Regions from separate parts of the Homo sapiens genome. Here region 1 is linked to region 2. Evidence: promoter capture Hi-C in 16 types of primary human blood cells and fetal thymus (Javierre and others, 2016). All regions are on one chromosome and are shown on one strand. Each heading gives the region's core, a stretch centred on a gene start or on the middle of the fragment in contact. The rest is flanking DNA. Distances are from core to core; before and after follow the strand shown.

Region 1 (3,306 bases), core at 50-2,549, 470 kb before region 2:
TTTTTTTTTGAGACAGAGTCTCACTCTATTGGAGTGACTGGTGCGATCTCGGCTCACTGCAACCTCCACTTCCTGGGTTCAAGTGATTCTCCTGCGTCAGCCTCCAGAGTAGCTGGGATTACAGTTGTGCACCACCACACCTGGCTAATTTTTGTATTATTAGTAGAGATGGGGTTTCACCGTGTTGGTCATACTGGTCTCGAACTCCTGACCTCAGGTGATCCACCTGCCTCGGCCTCCCACAGTGCTGGAATTACAGATGTGAACCACCACGCCCAGCCCCAGTCACCTTTTAAATTTACTGAATAGACTGATTCATCCTTCTAAGAGAAGGGATAGCCAGGTGCAGTGGCTCACACCTGTAATCCCAGCACTTTGGGAGTCTGAAGTGGGTGGATCTCTTGAGCCCAGGAGTTTGAGACCAGCCTGGGCAACATGGTGAAATCCTGTCTCTACAAAAAATTAGCTGGACGTGGCTGGGCGCGGTGGCTCACGCCTGTAATCCCAGCACTTTGGGAGGCTGAGGAGGGCAGATCACGAGGTTAGGAGATCAAGACCATCCTGGCTAACACGGTGAAACCCCATCTCCACTAAAAAAAAAAAAAATACAAAAAATTAGCTGGGCATGGTGGCAGGCACCTGTAGTCCCAGCTACTCGGGAGGCTGAGGCAGGAGAATGGCGTGAACCCAGGAGGCAGAGCTTGCAGTGAGCCGAGATATAGCCACTGCACTCCAGCCTGGGTGATAGAGCAAGACTCCGGCTCAAAAAAAAAAAAAAAATTAGCTGGACGTGGTGGTGCATGCCTGTAGTCCCAGCTTCTCGGGAGGCTGAGGCAGGAGGATTCACACCCAGGAGGCGGAGGTTGCAGTGAGCTGAGATCGTGTCACTACACTCCAGTCTGGGTGACAGCACGCAACTCTGTCTCAAAAATAAATAAATAAATAAATAAATAAATAAATAAATAAATAATAAATAAATAAATAAAAATGGTAACCCTAGTTTGCATAATGGTTTTGAGCTATGAACCTAGACTTAAAGGGAATACATTGAATAAATCGAATGACCATGGAGAATTAGATGAGACCTGTTGTAACCAAGTGACTTGTTTTCTTATTTTGTGTATTTGGGTCTCAACTTCCCCAAAGAAATTTATCCAGGTGTGGCATGTAGTATTAGCAATAGCACAGACATTTCCTTATCCAACCAATAAATAATATAGAGCAAATTCATCATCTAGTATCCCACAACTGGGATGCATTAAAGCCGAGTGAACAACAGTTCTATTAGGGATGTTGCCAAAGTTACCCACTAGGTGGCCTAAAGGATCTCTTAGGTCAGGTTCTGTCAAGTTACCAGCAGAAGCTACTGATTGGGAAGTTTCAGTTGCATCATTATCCTGCCAAGTGGAAAAAATTGGCATAAGCAGGGAAGAATTAAGAGGGACAAGAGGCTCATGATGGGGACTCTTGTTCTGTTGTCTTGGGAAAAGCCACCCACAGCATGAAGCCATCAACTGCTTGTCCTGGTTTACAGTTAGACTGTCTCTGCTCATGGCATGAGGCAGTCCAGTGAACTTTCTATATGGTCCATAGATCACACACAAGACTCATCCCTTAAAATTCATTTAGTTTCAGCTTATAGTGCCTTAGGAACAGAGCAATTCCCATTCTTAGTATTCTATGGAAGAAAGTTGGATTGGAGGAACCAAAAATAATTTAGGGTCAGGTGGGTACGGTGGCTCACGCCTGTAATCCCAGCATCCCGTGCACGCCTCAACCAGGGTAAAAATCTTTATGCTGTATGCAGGCAGATGTGCACAGAAATAGAACTAAAAATGGTCTATAACTGATTCCCTTGAGCTCGCAAGTCCCCACTCTTGCTCACGGCAAAAGAGAGAAAGGAAATAACACCAGGAACATGCTCATCAGAGCTAACTCAGCCTCTTCAGTCTTCCAAAACTCCCTTCCTCATTAACGCGTCAAGATTAAAGTTCAAGTTCAGGTTCAAGTTCCGATCAAGTGTCTCTCCCTGCTCCTTTCTGAGATGCTGCTAGGGTGCGGGGTAACTAGGGCACCCTCCTGGCTCCTGCCTCTCAGCCATGGCCAGGGCGGTTCCTGGACCTTCCGTCCTGGTGTCCACGAGGCGATACCATCATGCATTATTCTCAACCTCCAGCCCAGGGCTCCCAGCCTGGCCTCTGTACCCCAATCTCAGTCTTTTGATTCATCAGGGCCTGGGCTGCTTTTCCCACTCCACACTAGAGAGTGTAGGCTGGGTGTAGCCTCACACTAGATCTGTGAGGCTGCCTTCCAGGCCACTGTCCTAGACCCTTTCCTGGCCATTTCCAAAGCATGCCTGAGCAGCCCCTGTCGTTCTGCTGCCATGCTCACCGCAGGCCTTGCTACCACTGTGTTAACCCCGAGGAGGGAATCAGGACGCTGACATCTGATCTCCTGTGTCTTCCTACTGATGGGAACTTCCCTAAGTCACACCTTCAGACCCTGTGCACTGCTTATAATCCAAGTCCAGGATTCTGTTATTTACGTCTTAAAGCAGAGCCTTTGGAATTTAGAAAATCTCTTTTTTCTCTGAAAGCTCAGTTTCAAGACTACCGAATCACATGCACTTGGAGTCAGTCTTAATACTTAAAAGTGAAAGCGTCTTTCTTTCTCATCACCTACCTACTATGAAAATCATAATTATCCTTGAGGCCAACAGAAGCTTCTGACTGAATAAGAGAAGGAAAAAATATTAATACATCTAAGATAGTATCTGGCCAGGTGCGGTGGCTCATGCCTGTAATCCCAGCACTTTGGGAGGCTGAGGTGGGCAGGTCATTTGAGGTCAGGAGTTCGAGGCCAGTCTGGCCAACATAGTGAAACCCTGTCTCTACTAAAAATACCAAAAAGAAAAAAAAAAAAAAGAGCCTGGCATGGTGGCACACACCTGTAATCCCAGCTACTCGGGAGGCTGAGGCACGAGAATCGCTTGAACCCAGGAGATGGAGGTTGCAGTGAGCCAAGATTGCACCACTGCACTCCCGCCTGGGTTACAGAGTGAAACCCTGTCTCGAAAAAAAAAAAAAAGATAGTATCCCTCTTTTACTTGTAGCATAGCACTTATCACAAATGTACTAGAATTGTTCCATATCTGTCATCCTAAATAGAGAGGAATTACTTAAAGGAAGGGCACAAATCTTACTCACTTTTTATGTCAAGTGCCTAAATATTGTGCCTGGCACTTTATACGCTCCCAGAAACTATTGGATAGATGGATAGGTGGATGAGTGTGTGGATGGGTGGGTG
Region 2 (3,176 bases), core at 201-2,700:
TTCTGGAGGAAGGAAAGATAGAAGAAAGACCTGGATATCAGCATTTGGTAACGTCTACTTCGATCTTCCTGACAACTACATTCAAACTGACCTGAGTGTGCTGGCCCCAAGCACATCATCCAGCTTGAGTTTCAATGCTGGTTGGGAGAAAAGGAAATTGAGGGCAAGTCAGAGCCCAGAAAGGAGCGCAATTTAGAACTGCACAGCGGGGGAGACTGAGTTTGAGTGTAGGAAACGGGAAAGGGGGCGTGTGGGGTAAAGAGGTGAGCGCAGTGGAGTCAGGCCTTAGTGAACAAGTGTGCTTGAAGGTGGAGATGGGCACCCCTCTGGCTGAGTCTGCTCCAGTAGAGAGCTCAGGGGCCAGCAGCAGGCACCGCAAGGAGCAAAGCAACTGGTGTAAGCCCCACAGCTTCCTGCGACCAACAGTGCTTTGTTGTGCCCAGGCATCTGTTCAGTCCCATCTTTTATTTTAAGACAGGATCTGGCTCTGTTACCCAGGCTGGAGTGCAGTGGTACAATCTGAGCTCACTGCAGCCCAAACTCCTGGGTTCAAGCAATCCTCTTACCATCGCCTCCCAAGCAGCTGGGATTATGGGTGCACACCACCATGGCCCACTAATTTTCTACTTTTTGTAGAGATGGGGTCTCACTATGTTGCCCAGTCTTGTCTCAAACTCCTGGGCCACCTCAGCTTCCCAAACTGTTGGGATAAGAGGCATGAGCCACTGCACCTGGCCTCAATTTTTTCAATTTTGTTTTTAAAAGCAGACATCTCCCTGGTTGGAGCAAGGAGGAAACATGGCTTTAGAAAGTTTCCAGGTCCAAGGAGAAGCCCCACAACAGTTTGAGATCTTTCCAGAATGATCCACACTCGACCTCCTCATCCCTCTTACCAAAGAGCGACACCTTGTTCGTGGAAGTAGGAGGAGATACACACCCAGTACCTGTCCTCATCCAACAAAGTCGCAGGCACCCAAGGGCAGCCACGCTGCCACCGAAGGCCCCCGGCTGCTCACAACCGCCGGTCAGCTCCGGCCTCTCTTCGAAGGACACACGCGTCTCGCACCCCCTCCCCGCCCCGCCCTGAGGAGACATGCGTCTGGGCCCCGCGCCTTGAAAAGGCGCATTCCCACCCCCACCCCTCAAACGCGCGAGGCCACGCGTTCCGGCCTCCGCCACCTCCACATGCCGGAACACCAGTGAGGGGCGCGCGCTCCCAAAGGTCGGGGGCGGAGCTAAGAGCGCCGCGCCCAAAAAAGGCGGCAAAGTCCCTGACTCGCTGAGAGTTTGCGAGCCGCCATGTCTATCTCATTCGTCTCCTCTCCTCCGACAGCACGCCGTGCTTCCCCTCAGGCACCTTTCACCGTTAGGGATGAGGGCTCCGCGGCGGTTCTCGGTGTGGCTCTGATTCACCGCCATCTTGCTTCGGGCCTCCTGCCGCCCCGTAGATGGAAAGGGGCGGGACCTGCGCCGAGCTGTGGGGCGCGGTTCTGAAGGGGAGGGCGGAGATTATGACGTAAGGAGGAGGAGGAGGAGGAGCGAGACCGGGTCACGTGGTGGGGCAGTGCCCGGGGAGCGGGGCGGAGTCAGGGTAGAGGCCCCCGCCGAGAAAGGGGAGAAAGAGGCGGGCCCTGAGAATTGGCTCGAGCGCGAAGGGGTGAGTGATAGGTGAGTGGCCTCCCGACCTCACCTGCCCCCTTAGCCCCCTGCCTTTAGGTATGGACTTGGGTTGGTCCTGTCAGGAATGATCTCAGCTCACTGCACCTCCAACCTCCCATGCTCAAGCCATCTTCCCACCTCAACCTCCCATCCATTACTCACTTTGGTTATGAAACACTAGAAAATAATGACTGAGGCCCGACCTGACGCCAACTGAAGATGAACTGACCTCACAAAGTGTTTTCATCTCTAATATCTGTGGCTATTTCTTACCAAGAGAGTCTCACCCTCCACACATGGGTGAGATGACATAATGGCTGATTTGGTCAAGGAGCACAAATAAGACAGGCCAGGCAGTTACTGTTCAAACAGCAATGTTTAGTTGTACAACACATAAAGTCTAGCAACAATTACAGGACCAGTTTGAGTGTCTGTTTGCTTGTTTTCAATTGGGAAATTTAACTGTAATGTCACCGTAAGATTGGCTGGGACTGGTAACATTTAAGAAACGGGTTGTTCTTGCATCCCCTAGGCGTGGGCCTCTTGCTCCATCAGGACTTGGTTGTAGATGAATGGCCCACAAGTCACCAGCCTTTGAGCAAGTTGTGTCCAGGTGGAGACAGGAAGAGGGTGGGCAAAGGGGAATTCTATAAAGACACAGTGTGTGGGGCAGTGGCAGTCAACATTCGCAAACATTCATGCATCTGATGGGGGGCTTTGCCCTCCCTTGGGTATTTTCCATTAGCCTACAGTGACCACCTGTGGTCAGGCTAATTCATTACTCACATTAATGGGGAAGGGGGTTGGGGGTAGGAGTAGGTAGGGTAGGTGGGAAGAGATCCCTCTTATTGCTGAGTGGACAGAAGGGTGCTAGTTTTTCCTTAGCGTGTACATATTGTGGGTTTCTGGGGGTTTGTGTGTGTGTTTAGTTTTTGTTTGTTTGTTTGGACAGAAGAAAGTCAACTCCAGCAATGTCTTCTTAGGAAAACCACTCTTCCTCAGTGGCTGCGTTATGAGGTGGGGAGGATGTACAACCGCACTCTGGGACAGCCACAAGTGGTGATTTTTTAAAAAGTGATCCTAGCCCTTGCTCCCCAACATCTGTAGTGACCCACCCTCATGAATATCTTTAAGTAATGAAGGAGACACCCTTGTCCCACTTTGGGGCTCACACAGCTGATCTCAATGAATCTAGTAAGCAGAAAAATTGCTTTCTTGACCCTTTAAGGAAGCCAAGAGTAGCTCATGCAGATGAATGGGTAGGGAGCAATGCCATTGCCCTTAGAGATGGTTACAAGTAGCTGGGATGGGCTTACAAGGGCAGAAGGAGCTCTTGATGAGTTCTTTCACCCTGCAGATGGGCTAGGACCGGCTGACGCAGATGATGCAGTAGGGCTGTACTGGCAGAACCCCACTCCACTGGGAGGAGAGGAGTGGTTTGGATAAATGGAGGATGCAACTGGCCTAAAGAGGCAGCTGGCCCCTCCCACCTACTGAGGGCTGAGAGGGGCTGTGGT

What was found. Contacts are between HindIII fragments. The CHiCAGO score rates a contact against its expected background, and 5 or more counts as called.
Region 1: a fragment that was not itself captured here is called in contact with the fragment with the promoter of WBP2NL in region 2 in 2 of 17 cell types (endothelial precursors and total B cells); the score reaches 5.7 in endothelial precursors.

The regions. Positions count from the first base shown.
Region 1 is chr22:42,471,717-42,475,022 of GRCh38, reverse strand. No RefSeq gene overlaps it. Among named protein-coding and RNA genes, the nearest start is that of NFAM1, 41 kb to the right of the region's middle. The HindIII fragment of the contact is 2,851 bases long and covers 1-2,724 here.
Region 2 is chr22:41,997,062-42,000,237 of GRCh38, reverse strand. It overlaps WBP2NL (WBP2 N-terminal like), which reads right to left and starts at 1,450. Exons shown (of 6, transcript NM_152613.3): 1 at 1,358-1,450. The coding sequence starts at 1,419. SEPTIN3 (septin 3) reads right to left here. Exons shown (of 12, transcript NM_001363845.2): 12 at 2,017-3,176. RefSeq lists enhancers at 869-1,383, 1,384-1,900 and a silencer at 1,498-1,557. The HindIII fragment of the contact is 12,096 bases long and covers 1-3,176 here.